5 separate regions of the Homo sapiens genome follow, and all the other regions are linked to region 2. The links are contacts of gene promoters, found by promoter capture Hi-C in blood cells and fetal thymus (Javierre and others, 2016). All regions are on one chromosome and are shown on one strand. Each heading gives the region's core, a stretch centred on a gene start or on the middle of the fragment in contact. The rest is flanking DNA. Distances are from core to core; before and after follow the strand shown.

What was found. Contacts are between HindIII fragments. The CHiCAGO score rates a contact against its expected background, and 5 or more counts as called.
Region 1: the fragment with the promoter of NR1I2 here is called in contact with the fragment with the promoter of ARHGAP31-AS1 in region 2 in 2 of 17 cell types (erythroblasts and neutrophils); the score reaches 12.7 in erythroblasts.
Region 3: a contact is called between a fragment that was not itself captured here and the fragment with the promoter of ARHGAP31-AS1 in region 2, in 1 of 17 cell types (erythroblasts). The highest score is 5.5, in erythroblasts.
Region 4: a fragment that was not itself captured here is called in contact with the fragment with the promoter of ARHGAP31-AS1 in region 2 in 14 of 17 cell types (megakaryocytes, M0 macrophages, total B cells and 11 more); the score reaches 11.8 in megakaryocytes.
Region 5: a contact is called between a fragment that was not itself captured here and the fragment with the promoter of ARHGAP31-AS1 in region 2, in 2 of 17 cell types (naive CD4 T cells and activated CD4 T cells). The highest score is 6.3, in naive CD4 T cells.

What each region holds. Positions count from the first base shown.
Region 1 is chr3:119,780,652-119,783,351 of GRCh38, reverse strand. It overlaps NR1I2 (nuclear receptor subfamily 1 group I member 2), which reads right to left and starts at 1,251. Exons shown (of 9, transcript NM_003889.4): 1 at 1,052-1,251. The HindIII fragment of the contact is 6,406 bases long and covers 51-2,700 here.
Region 2 is chr3:119,321,427-119,324,126 of GRCh38, reverse strand. ARHGAP31-AS1 (ARHGAP31 antisense RNA 1) reads left to right here and starts at 1,367. Exons shown (of 2, transcript NR_046748.1): 1 at 1,367-1,513. The region is part of intron 1 of ARHGAP31 (Rho GTPase activating protein 31); the gene reads right to left. RefSeq lists enhancers at 1-838, 839-1,696 and silencers at 660-1,009, 1,060-1,419. The HindIII fragment of the contact is 4,466 bases long and covers 1-2,700 here.
Region 3 is chr3:119,654,841-119,657,540 of GRCh38, reverse strand. All of the region lies in intron 1 of POPDC2 (popeye domain cAMP effector 2), which reads left to right. Among named protein-coding and RNA genes, the nearest start is that of POPDC2, 4.4 kb to the left of the region's middle. The HindIII fragment of the contact is 2,702 bases long and covers 1-2,652 here.
Region 4 is chr3:119,683,336-119,686,035 of GRCh38, reverse strand. No RefSeq gene overlaps it. Among named protein-coding and RNA genes, the nearest start is that of COX17, 7.3 kb to the right of the region's middle. The HindIII fragment of the contact is 1,303 bases long and covers 722-2,024 here.
Region 5 is chr3:118,949,485-118,952,184 of GRCh38, reverse strand. The region is part of intron 1 of IGSF11 (immunoglobulin superfamily member 11); the gene reads left to right. Among named protein-coding and RNA genes, the nearest start is that of IGSF11-AS1, 7.8 kb to the right of the region's middle. The HindIII fragment of the contact is 1,233 bases long and covers 656-1,888 here.

The DNA.
Region 1 (2,700 bases), core at 2-2,501, 460 kb before region 2:
AGCCATATACAATACATAACGAATGGGCATGGCTGTGTTCCAATAAAGCTTCATTTATAAAAACAGCTGGTGGGCCAGAGTTAGCCTGTGAGCCATAGTTTGTCAACCCCAGGTTTAGACTTTTATGACATAACTAAAATATTTTTAAAGCGTATTTGTGTACCACAAAATACTTTTTCCCATTAACCAACTGATTAAATAAGCCTCTGAGGCCTCCCTTAGCATCCTTTCAACTCTGACCATATCATTAGAGGCCATGTGGGAGAGGAATAGTGCCTGCTATAGCTGATTCATTGAGTCAAGACTCAGTGGCCTCAGAGGTGTCTGTTGACCTGTCCTAGATATGGAGTGGCCTTAAAGCAGTGCCTCTGGCCATAGCTTCAGCCGAGCTGGGCTGTAAAGTGGAGAGAAGAAGGACCTGGTGGCACTGACCACATGCAGGCAAGACTCGGTTCTGTGGGACAAGGTGCCCTTTCAATAGTAGAGGTAGAAAACTCACTGGTTTGAAGCCAACTCAGCCGCAGCACTGTGCAGGGGTATGGCAGGTGCTCTGAGGGACCCCTCCTTGAAGTGGTGAGTCCTGGTGACTGTCATGCTGCTGTCCTTGGCCTCAGGGGGCTGCCAGCACTAACCCAGCAGGCCAAAAGGAATCAGGACTGAGTTGATCCCAGTTCCCATAGTCCCCAGCTCCCACAGTCCTTGGAGGTGGTATTTCCTGGGTCCAGGGACTCCAGCCCTGTAACAGGGAGCTGGTTGTATGTGTGACTTGTGGTAACTCATGCAGTAGTTAAGGCTTCTCCTGTGGTGATTTTTCTAGGAGGCTAGTGCAGGACCAGAGAGCATCAGTAATGGGGCTCAACATTAAGTGATTGTTTTCATGCTTTTTTTTTTCCACCCTAGAAATGAGGAGACAGCAGCAAGGCCAACATGATTCACGACCCACTATGATGCTGACCTCAAACAGAAGGTATATTTGTGTTCACACACATCTTTTGGCTGGAGCTGAAGGGCGGTCAGCCCCCAGCAAAAGAGAAAGAAAGAAAAACCATACCTGCTTGGTGGTAAGTTCTTTGCTCCGACTTCTCCCCTGGGGTCCACTTTGAACAATCCGGTGCAAAGGATCGATCAAGGAGTAGCTTTACCAAGGAGCCGCTGCCTTGTTCAGGACAGGAGTATTAGCTTATTCTCTTGCTTTTCTCACTGTGAACACTTGGCTTGCAGGCTGAGGCCGAGATTCCCACTGAAGTAAAGGCAGTGCTTCCTCTTCCCGTCCTAGTCATAGGTTATGATTTCCCCGGATATGAGACAATCTTGTCTCTCACCTATATTTCAGTCCAAGTCAGATGTAGGCACTAAGCGGCTCCATTGCCCCTCCTAAGTCCCAAGTCCAGCACTTGAACTAGCAAATGAAGAGATTACCGTATTTGTTCTCATTATGTTCTCCCTACTTTTTTCTTTCAGGTCTCTTCACTACAAAAACACAGGAAAAGGGGAAGAGAGTGGCAAATATCCGCTTTGTCTAAGTAATTCTGAGTGCATTTCATCAGTCTGAGGGTCTCTGTCCTTTACCACTAGGGGCAACATTAATTTGAACCTAGATCTCCTTATACTTCCTCCTTTGTTGAAACCACCTCCCTGGATAGTGTTACTTGATGTGAAAGTGAGCAAAGTATTGATTTATGACGGTGCCAATCACCAGCATGGTTATGTAAGAGGGGGGCAGGCACACAGGGAGAGGGAAAGGGTGTGAGATGAGGGGGCTGAGCACAGTTCTCGAGAATGTGACCCCACCACTTTGATCTCAGAACAGAAGGCTGACCAGGAGTGGGGAGGATGGACCAGCTGAGGGCTCTTTCCTCTCCCGGGTCCTGCCAGAGGGGAGCTGAAGAGTCCTCACTCTTCAGCCTCAACCTTCTTATTCCCTAGCAGCAGGTGCTCCCAAGTGAACAGAATCAACAAAAGCCGAATGTGGTGGATACCAGGATGTGTTTCTTCTACTTGCTTTGTTTATAAAGATGCTTTATGGCAGGTGAGGGGAGTGGAAGTAACTGCTCCTACCTAAAAGGCAAACAAGTACAAGCCTCTGGCAACAGTAAAGCAGGGGCATGGGCCCCAACAAGAGAGGGAGAGGGAGACCACGATTGAGCAAACAGGTAGAAAAGAGAACCTGGGATTGCCAAAAAATGACCACAGTTGTCTTCAGGTGAACATTTGGACTTCCTTACATTTATTTATTGACTTAAGTTGTTATTATTTTGAAGTACATGCTTTAATCCAGCCCTGGTGAGAAAAGCCAGAATATCTAAGTATGATTTGTTTGTTTTGTTTTTAATTGGTTTCTTCTCTATCCAATTTGCACTTCCCAAGGGATGAGAAAGACTTGAGGCTGGGATTTCCTAGGGGTTGACATTTCTCAAGTGGATGCTTGCCTTGCTGTTTTCAACCAAGCGCAGAATGTAAGGTGCTTACACAGCTCACTGCTGGGGACTTACTGCCAGCAGTGGGGACTGGGACCCACAGCCATAGAGCTCTGTCCTTTTTCCAGTCACATTTCTGATTATCCACATGGGATTCTGCTAGGGCTAGGAGGTATTGGATTACAAATCCCACTGGACAGAAAGTTGACTTGGGCCTTAGGCAGGGAGGACCTAGAGTAAGTGAAATATTGAATGTCATGAGGATATTGGAAAGAAAAAGAGT
Region 2 (2,700 bases), core at 118-2,617:
ACAGATGGGCATAACAGAGTCCCAGGACTTCACCCCTTCGGTGTAGAGCAGGGATGGCAGGGATGGCAAGAGCCCCACTTAGGATACCTGGAAAAAGAAATCTCCGCAGCAAAGGGTCCTTGTGCTGACTTTTCTTTTTCATTTACGAGTGTACCCTCTGTCTCCTTGGGGGCCCACCTTCTTATTCCCAGCAGGAAAGGGGAAGGGGGAGGACAGGAAATGTGGAAACCGCGTTAACAGCCTGATTGTGAACCAGCACTGCGACTGAGATGCGAGGAGGGAAGGACAAAAGTCCCTCCCTCGCTTTTCAAAAAGTAAGCCACAAAAGTTATAGAAACATTTTCTATTAAACATCATCTCCATTTTGCAGAGAACCTAAGGCTCCGAGGACTTGCCCAGGGCCATACAGCCGGTGAGCCCCAGGGCTCAGCCACAGCCCAGGTAACGAGGACAGGGCTTGCTCCAGCCACCATTGGCTGCCTCTTCGGCCTCCCTCTCTCAGGTGAGACAGTATGTCAGGTGAGGCAACTGAAACAATGTCCCTCAGTTCGGATGCATCCTCCCTCTTCGTTTCCTGTCATGAGACAGGTTTCTCCTCTTCCTGGATGTGGTTAAAAAAAAAAGAAGAAGAAAAGAAACAAAAGAAAAAAGGAAAGAAACGCAAAGCAAAGCCAAGCCCAACGTCTTGGCTCTCAGGGTTGCACCTCCTTTCTCTACCCGCGGGGTCTGGGCCGGCGGGGTGTGGCCGCAGCCCTGGGGCGCGAGAAGCCCATCCGGGCCCGAGGTGCTGGGCGGCCTGGAGCGCTGGCTGCCCCCAGGGCCGGCGGCTGTCCCTGGGGTTTCCCCGCTTCTGGGCTTTCCCCGCTTCTGGGCTCGGTGGCCGCGCGGGCGGGCGCCAAGTGACTCAGCCGTCCCCGAGGGCGTTCCGGGAAGCGGCCGGGGGCGCGGGCTTTCCTGTCGCCGCAGCGTGTGAGTCCCCAGCGCCGAAAGGGGATCAGAAACCGCTGGGCGGAGCAGCGGGAGGAAGCTGCGGCGCGCAGAGCAGAGTCAGCGCCACCGTCTTTCGAGCTGGAGCGGAGGGAACGTGGCCTTGACGTTGCTGAAGCTGAAGCGCCGGGCGGGCGCCCGGACCCCGGGGCGGGGCAGAAACGAGTCCGTTCCCTACTGCGGGGCGGGGGCAGGGCTGGAACGGGAGTTCAGGAGGGACAAGGACGTGGAAGGAGCCCAGCAGAGGGCACCCGGGACCCCCGCGGCCGGGCCGAGTTTGAAGGGAGCCCCTCTCCCCCTCCCCCTGGCGGAGCCCCCTGTAGGGTCTGACCTGGTGCCCCGCAACAGGAGCGGGAGGAGGAGCAGGCCCAGAGCGGCCGGGCCCCAGCCTAGAGGGGCGCTCGAGGGGAAGCGAGTGAAGTGAGGGCTCCGCCAGAGCAGCACCCCCTTCCCCGCCGTCCCTCCCGGACTGGCCGGTTCTCGTCAGAGATTCCTTTGTCTTCGACGCTGGTCCCTCCACACCAAGGTGGGAGGCTGAGGTGGGAGGTGGCAGAGCGGTGGGAGTGGGAGCAAGGCCGGAGCGTGGGTGGAGGCGCTGGCCGCGGGCTTGCAAGGATGGCACAAGGGAGACATCCAGGACAAACCATGGGGAACACAGCTGCCACTGAGAGAAGCTGCCCGGAGGAGGAAGGGGCTGCAAAGTTCAACCACCAGGCAAGGCAAGTCCACGAACAAAATCCCGGCTCTAAAAACAGAGCAGCAATTGTCACTGTGGGTTAGACGCTTTGAGTTACCTCTATTTTCATTTATGTCTAAGATAAATTCAAGAGACAAGGAGAAAGTCAGGAGGTTAAAATTCCAGCCTCTGGTCCCAGCTCCCTAAAGCCAGCTCCCTTCTTGTCTTTGCCAAAGTTTGCTTCTATGAATCAGTAATTAACCCCCACTTTTTTTCTTATGTCAGAGTTCCTTCAGTCACAACCAAGAGAGTTCTGACTAATAACACACCTTTTAATCCAGCAATTTTACTTCTGGGAGTTTATTCCAAAGAAATATTACATAACAAAAGAGCCATATGCCTCACAATATTCACTGTGGGCTTGTTCATAAAATTAAAACAATCATAACTATAAATGTCCAGTAATGGAGGCAGGGAATAAACTGGCATATTTATATGATAAACTACTATGGGCCGGGCGTGGTGGCTCACGCCTGTAATCCCAGCACTTTGGGAGGCTGAGGCGGGCAGATCACCCGAGGTCAGAAGTTCAAGACCAGCCTGGCCAACATGGCGAAACCCCGTCTCCACTAAAAATACAAAAACAAGTTAGCTGGGCGTGGTGGTGTGGGCCTATAGTTCCAGCTACTTGGGAGGCTGAAGCAGGAAAATCACTTGAGCCCGAGAGGTAGAGGCTTCAATGAGCTGAGATCGTGACACTGCACTCTGGCCTGGGCAACAGAGCGAGTCTCCGTCTCAAAACAAAACAAAACCTACGGAGCCTTAAAATGTTATATGTAGGGTTTTATAACTTGAATAAAGACTTCGGTTATAAGAAAGCAAGACACAAAATCATATATATATATAATATATATATACACACACACAGTGTAATCACAATATGAAAATGTACATAGAAAAAAAACACTTGAAGGAAATCCACCAAAATGTTACATCTTTGGGTGATAGAATTACATACAAGTATTTTTTTCTTTCTA
Region 3 (2,700 bases), core at 52-2,551, 330 kb before region 2:
CTTGGTTTCCTTTGTTCATTTATTCATCCTTACTTTCTTGCTTCCTTCTTTCCTTCTTTTCCCCCTTCCATACATATTTATTCAGAGTCTTGAATAAAGCTCCTGTCTTCCAGCTTTAGGTTGTCAGATAATAGGTGCAATTGTTTTTTTAATTGGTGCTGGTCTTTGGTAATTTGTATACACGCATGTATACCTAGGCATTCATTAAGAGCAAGGCTCAGGAGTGCTGATATCCCATTGGCCAGGACTTATCACTTGCCTATGCCTAGCAGCCAGGGAAGTAGAGAAATGTTGATTTTTTTCTCTGCAGTCATGTGTCCAGTTAAAATCTAGCACCATTAAGGAAGAGAAGAAAGCAGATACTGGAGAACAGACTGCCACACTGGATTTCCCAGGTCTTTGTTCATTCTCATCTTTATCTGCTTCTCAATACCCTTTGCATCCCTCAAAATTCAGCTCAAATGTCATCTCCTTCGAGAGGTCTGCTGCCCAAAGAGAACCAATCTTTCTCTCTCCTCTGTTACTGTTCCACAATAGCACCTATCACATTGACTTGCAGCCAGTTATTTATGTGCCTGTGACTTCCACTAAATTGTGAAATCCTCAAAGACAAAGACCAGATTGTGCCCATCTCTGCATTCCCAGATCTCCAGAAACATGAGAGATGCTCCAGAAATATTTGTTTAGCCAATAAACCTCCAGAAATAATGGAAGGATATCTCCCCCAAATGAACAAGGTGTACCTTAGAGATCTTTTTCATCTTCCCCCTTTGCCTAATAGAGGCACCCCTATTGCCTGATATAACTCACTTTAGAAGAGAGGTTAAAGATGAAACTCTGAGTTTTCTGGGCAGGGGTCGGGTTGGGGGAAGGATAAAGCCCATACTGGATTCTAATCTTCTTCCAGATGTGGCCTCACATCTGAAATACACTCCCTGTCCTCAGGCATCATCAATGACATGCCATCAGTTCTAACAAGTTCTCATGGAATGCAGTCTTTTTACCCTGCAGGGGCAGAGCACTAGGCTAGGTACAGCCACAAGGGTACAAAGGCACCAAGCAGCAATAGTAAGGCTCCTAACCCCTTAAGTTGTGAAACCAAGCCTGTGGTCATGGGCAAGTCAAGAGCAGTTAATGACTTAAGACTTAAGACTTAAGAATATTCATAAAATTAAAGCAAATAATTCGGATTTCTGGCTGCAGCCACAGTAACCCACTCTAGCCAACAGAAGGGGGAAAAAAGGTCTTTATTTAAAAAAATACAAGGATTTCTTATGAAACTCAAGGAAAGACATGCACCTAAGCCTCAGGTAGTGCTAGAAACAAGAACATGTCCTACTAGGACATTTTATGTGATTTCAAGTTTATTTTCTCTATAGCCAATTGGGACCCATGCTTTTCAAAGTCTGAGTTACGTGATAAAAAAAAATTTTTTTTAGTTCCTTCAGGGAGGAGTGTGTTAGTTTTGTTAATAATGCCTGATAATTGTCCCCATCCAAGGCATGATTTACACGCAATTCCATTTCCAAATTCCCAGGGAAGGAGTTTGATTGGCTCAGCTTGAGTCAGGTGTTCACTCTAGGACCATCAGCTGGATAGGGTGCATGGGATCTCATTGTCTAAAGAAACAAGCTGTTATTGTCACCTACGGTTAGAGAGGTCCGGGAAAGGGTCATGCTAGGAGAGTCCACTACCATCTACCCAAAGCTGTAGTAATAGGGTGGCAACATGGTGTTGTGCTAAGAACATAGAATTTTAGTTCCGCCACTTGATCGCTATGTAGCCTTAAGCTCGCCACTCAACCCTTCTGAGCACCAGTTTCCTTAGCTATAAAATACAGAAAAGAATAATCTACCTTGTGGTGTTGTGAACATTATATAAGAGAACACTGGTAAAGTGTCTAGCAGAGTCTGGCATATGGTAGACTTGCCACTTCCTTCAAAGTCTACAAAGTGGTTAAATGTAAGCATGAATCTTCATGTAGCTAATGGGAAGGGAGAAAGGAGAATCTGTGGAGCAGCGGATCCAACAGAACTTTCTGTGATGACAGAAACGTTCTAGATCTATGTTGTACAACATGGTAGTCACAGGCCATATGTGGCTATTGAACACCCATATTGTAATTAGGTAAGGAACTGAATTTTTAATTTTATTTAATTTTAATTAATGTAAATGTAAACTTAAATAGGCAGCAGCATTCTTTTCTCTTTTTTTGAGACAGAATCTTGCTCTTTTGCCCAGGCTGGAGTGCAGTGGTGTGATCTCGGCTCACTGCAACCTCCACCCCCGAGTTCAAGTGATTCTCTTGCCTCAGCCTCCCAAGTAGCTGGGATTACAGGCACCCGCCACCATACCTGGCTAATTTTTGTATTTTTAGTAGAGATGGGGGTTTCACTCTCTTGGCCAGGCTGGTCTCGAACTCCTGACCTTAGGTGATCCACCTGCCTCAGCCTCCCAAAGTGCTGGGATTACAGGTGTGAGCCACTGCGCCGGGCCAGCAGCAGAGTTCTTAAGCAGTAGTTTCTATCTTGGCTACACATTAGAATCACTGGGGAGATGTAAATACTAATAATATCCAGTTCCTACCTAGAGAGATTCTTGTTTAATTGCTCTGGGATAAGGCCCAAGCCTAGGTGCTTTTTTTTAAAAGCTTCCCTGGGACTTCTACTCTGCAGCCTGAAATTGAGAACCACCAGTAAG
Region 4 (2,700 bases), core at 124-2,623, 360 kb before region 2:
GAGACAATTGAATCACGGGGATGGTTTCCCCCATACTGTTCTTGTGGTAGAGAATAAGTCTCACAAGATCTGATGGTTTTATCAGGGGTTTCCACTTTTGCATCTTCCTCATTCTCTTTGCCTGCTGCCATCCATGTAAGATGGGTCTTGCTCCTCCTTGCCTTCCACCATGATTGTGAGGCTTCCCCAGCCATGTGGAACTGTAAGGCCAAAGGCCAATTAAACCTCTTTCTTTTGTAAATTGCCCCTTCTTGGGTATGTCTTTATCAGCAGCATGAAAACAGACTAATACAGGGTGTGTGCAATTGACCTTTTTCTTCTTTCTTTCCTTTTTTTTTTTTTTTTTTTAAGGCAGGGTCTCACTTTATCACCCAGGCTGGAGTGCAATGGAGTGACCTCGGCTCACTGCAACCTCCGCCTCCTGGGTTCAAATGACTCTCCCTCAGCTTCCTGAGTAGCTGAGATTATAGATGTGTGCCACCAGGCCTGGCTAATTTTTGTATTTTTAGTAGAGACGGAGTTTCGCCCTGTTGGCCAGGCTGGTCTCGATCTCCTGACCTCAGGTAATCTGCCCACCTCAGCCTCCCAAATTGTGGGGATTACAGGCGTGAGCCACCATACCCAGCCACAACTGACCTTTTTCATCCAGTGATTAGCCTGGCTTTCTCCCACAAGCATGTGGACAAGTTGATTAAGATCAGAGAAGCTGGGCTAGTAAGCTTCAATTGTAATGTTAAATTCATCAGCAAAGCAAAGAGGGTCCTGGGTAACTTTAGGAAATTCCTTGGCTTTAACATGGATTTCAGCCTTATTCCAAGGGCATAGACAATCTAAGGAACCTCAGGATTGTTAGTGGGTCTAACCCTACAGGGACAAGTTTTTATAGGTTGAGGATGGGGATCAGAAGCTGGGAGGGTAGTAGGGGAGGAAGTATCAGGATTGAGTGGGGTTTTCAGAAAGGGAAGGGTAGAGAGGAGAGAGAGGTGGTGGTACCAGGGGAGCAGAAAAACTCTGAGTTTCTAAGGCCTTTTAAAATCTTCCTTTCGTTGTTTATCTGTCTTAGTTAACTTAGTGATGGTATTTTGGAGTTAGGTGATTTTTGAGGCTTGAATACATTTAGATGCTTCAAGATACCACTTAAAGTTTATGCTCCTTTCAGGCAATTTAATTTTGTAGCCATGGCCTTCTAATTTAGTTCTAAGAAAACAAGTTAGGGAGTTCAAGAGATGGCCATTGTAATTCCAAATTTTCTTTAGTGTAATTGGTCCATTGCGATAAAAAAAGAATAGGAAGATGGACCATAATAATTAAGCATATAACAAGCTAGAGTCCCCAATGTTGGGGGGCTATTTTGGTATATCTTTGAATTTGGGGAGTTCATTTGTAAATAAACATATCCAAGTGAGTCAGTGCAAAGCCAAACACACAAAAGCCAAAATAAAAATCAAGCACACAAAATGAACCAAAGAGTAAAGTACATACTCACCGGGAAGAATGACAAAGCCTTCTTCAAATCCCTTACAAATAGAGGCCTAATAAATAGGAGAGGAAAGGCCCTTCATAAAGAAATCCCAAATAAAGCTGAAGAACTCAAATCCAAAAAAAAAAAAAAAAAAAAAAGGGGTGTTTAACCCAAGAAAGACTCACTGGGGTGAAAAAAGATCACCAGCGGAAGTAGGGGGCTCAAGGGGTCTGACAGTGAGTACTGCACACCATAGTTCCAGGGGCCATTATCTTTCCAAGTGAATCTGCTTTGCATCTCACTTCTGACACCATGTAATGTCAATAACAGATAGAGACTAATCTCCAAGCAAAAAGAGTTTATTTTGAAATAAACAAAGAAATAGGATTGCAATCTGGGACAAACATACAAACTGAAGTGGTCTCCAATATATTCAAAAAAAAAAAAGGAAATGGTTGAGGTTTCATTGGGAAAAGAGAAAGGTTATTGGTGCTTGTGGCATTTTGCAGGAGCTGGCAAGCTCTGATTGCTGGGTGGCAAAAGTTACTAGGTAAAACAAGCTTTGAAGTCATGGCAGCCATTTGTTGTCAAACTAGTCTTAAAATTGTAGCAGCTGTTTCATTGGATTGGGCTTGTGGGACAGTTTCTGGAGCAGGCTTTTGAGACCTGAGTGTTTTTTCACCCCTATGGTCCTCTAACTCTAAATTTTAGTTGGGTATAACAGGAATGACTCCATTTGTATAATCAATTTTTCACTTTAGATAATCGACCTGTGGTAGACAGATTCTTAAGGTGGCCCCTGGATCCTGACCTCCTGGTGTTCATGTTCTCATGTGATCCCCTCTTTTCAAGTATTTTAGCCAATAGAATATGCCAAATATGATATGATAGATGTAATTACATGGTTCTCTTACATAAGACTGTAATGCCCATATTTCTGGGTGGCTCTCTATCCCTTGCTGGCTTTGAGGAAGTAAGTGACCATGTTGGGAACCCTATTTGGCAAGGAACTACAGGAGGCCTCTAGGAGCTGAGGGTAGCCTCCAACTGATAGCCAGCAAGAAACCAAAGCCTTTAGTCCTACAATAGCAAGAAACTGAATTCTGTCAACAACATAAGATTGGAAGCATATTCTTCCCCAGTAGAACCACAGATGAGACCACAGTCTCAGCTGAAAGCTTGATTCAAGTCTTGTAAGACCCTAATCAAAGAAGTCACTTAAGTAATGCCCTTGACTA
Region 5 (2,700 bases), core at 23-2,522, 370 kb after region 2:
GGCTCAGATGATCGTTAGCATTTTTAGCCATGAAGTGTTTTTTACTTTAAGATATGTACTGTTTTTATATAATGCTACTGCATACTTAATAGACTACAGTATAGTGTAAATACAACTTATATGCACTGGGAAACCAAAAAATATGTATGACTTGCTTTATTGAGATTTTTACCTTATTTTGGTGGTCTGGAAGCAAATCTCTAATATCTCTGAGGTATGTCTGTATGTATACAGTCAGTCCTCCATATTTGTGGGTTATGCAGCCATGGATTCAACCAACCACAGATTGAAAATATTTTGGGAAAAAATTTTAAAAAAACACAATGATAAAACATACAAATAGAAACAATACTATATTTACATAGCATTTACGTTGTGTTAGGTATTGTATGTAATCTAGAGATGATTTAAGGTATTTGAGAGAATATTTGTAGGTTACATGCAAATGCTGTACCATCTTATATAAGAGACTTAAGCATTTGGGGATTTTGGTGTCTGGGGGGTGTCCTGGAACCAATCCCAGTCGATACTGATGGGTTGAACTAATATGGGTGAAGAACTTAGAATGGTTCCTAACACATAGTAAATAACCAATAAAGGGATAGATATTATTATTAGTCTATTATTATTTTTAAAAGAAATATCACTTGAAGCTTTCTTGAAGTGATGTTTTGTGAAAAAGAATCTGAAAAATAATATTACCACATTTTGTAGGATAGAAAAATCAAATGCTTATGTGTGTGTGTAGTTGTATCTGTGTGATGGAGAATTAGAAAATGTTAAGATACAGTGGCCAACTGGGGAGTACCCTGTCTATAAGTTTCAATTTAGATTAAAAGCCAAAATACTATGATCACCAAACCATACTCATTTGTCAGCCAGCTTTGGTCTATGAATCACCAGTTGCAGTCCCTGATATAAGGTATACATGCATCAAGCATAGCTTAGTTCTATAAAAAGACTGAGTATTTAAAGCTGTGCTATCTGTCATGCTAGCCATTAGCCCCATGTGGACATCTAAATTAAAATTCAGTTCCTCAGTCACATTAGGTACAATTCAGATGCTGAATAGCCACATGTGGCTGCTACTATGTTGGGTGGTGCAGATACAGGACATTTTCATCATTACAGAAAGTTCTATTGGATAGAGCTGACCTAATGGCTTGTAAATATATTCATTCATTACTGTCTACCAACTTACCCATTCCTTGGTGAGAAATCACCAAGCCAGAGCCAGCAGACCTGTAATACACAGTACTGTAAGACTGGTCTTATGCTACTTAGCTGTTAATCTGCTCCCAAGCAGCAGCTTACAAGTTTGTTTTTGAGGTTCCCCCAACCCCATCAAAGCTCTTGGTTTGGTGACTGTAGGCCTCTGGCATTAGTTGATTGTCCAGGTTGAGGAGAAAATTCCATAGGGGAACAGAGTAATTCATTTTCCCACATGACCTTCTGTCTTGACTTCTAACACCATACTTTTAGTTTTGCCTATTATTAACTTGATATAAATGGAATCATTTATACATTATTATAATGTATTATTATAATGTATCTATTATATAGATACATTATTAATAGCTTTCCAGGCAAGATGGGGAAAATTGAGTTGGGGTATATATATGTTTGCGTGTGTGTATTTTTTTCACCCACTAGGAGAAATACATCAGTGAGAAACCTTAACCTTGAATATTCTCTATAAAATATATAAAAGGCATATTACCTTAGGAATTTTTTACTGTGTCATAATACTGTTGTATCTCGTCGTGGCAATCAACATTTGCTATCACTAGAATAATGCTTTATTGTTTATGATAGGAAATAACAAAATTTTAACCTTAATGGTGATTTGAAGAATTTTTACTCTGTTAGAACTTAACCGGAGAAAGCTTGAGCTGGGAGGAGGTGATATAACGGATCAGATCCCTTAGGGCTATTCAGGTTAGTGGATAGGATTGTTTCTCTTTTGCCATTCATGATGGAGCCTGCATGTTACTCCTTAAACAGAGAAAGTATAGAGTGAGTGTGTATGTGCTGTGGTTTCTTTAGAAAGAGTGGTAGCATCAAGTATTATATGGTTAATGGGAAGTAAAAATTTATACTTCCATTCCTGACTCAATAAATATTAGGGATAATTCTTTATATTTTCCCTCTTTATTGAGGGTTTGCATTGGTAATTGTTCCTTCCCCTCTCCAGCAGAACCTAATTTATTCTAGGCCTTGGGCTTGAGGACTAAGGCCAATTTTCATTGGTAAATTAATTTCAAACATTACCCTCCCATTAGAGTAAATTCATCACTTTTCCCTAAGGGAAGGTATGCAGAGGCTTTTTGATCTACCTGGAACAGCTGTTTGCTTAATCCTTTCTCCTGGGGCTGTGTGTTACAGTAGAAAGAAAGTGAACATCATGAGACTTGAATTTTAGTCTTGGCTTTGATAAATTTTTTGGATTACTTTATGCAAGCTTTGGATTACTTTATTACTCCGTTCCTTATTTTGTGTGTAAAATGAAGGTAACAGCAGCAATGCCCACCTAATTTGCAAGAATGTTGAGAATAATACATGCAAAAGTGAAACTGCTTAGAGCCCTCAAAGGAAAGATAACAGATCTCAGGTTGAGGTTTCATCACATTTCAGCTATGCATGCTTCATTGTTCAAGCCTCTTAGATGTTAACAACTATGGAGTGTTTAGATTTCAGGAG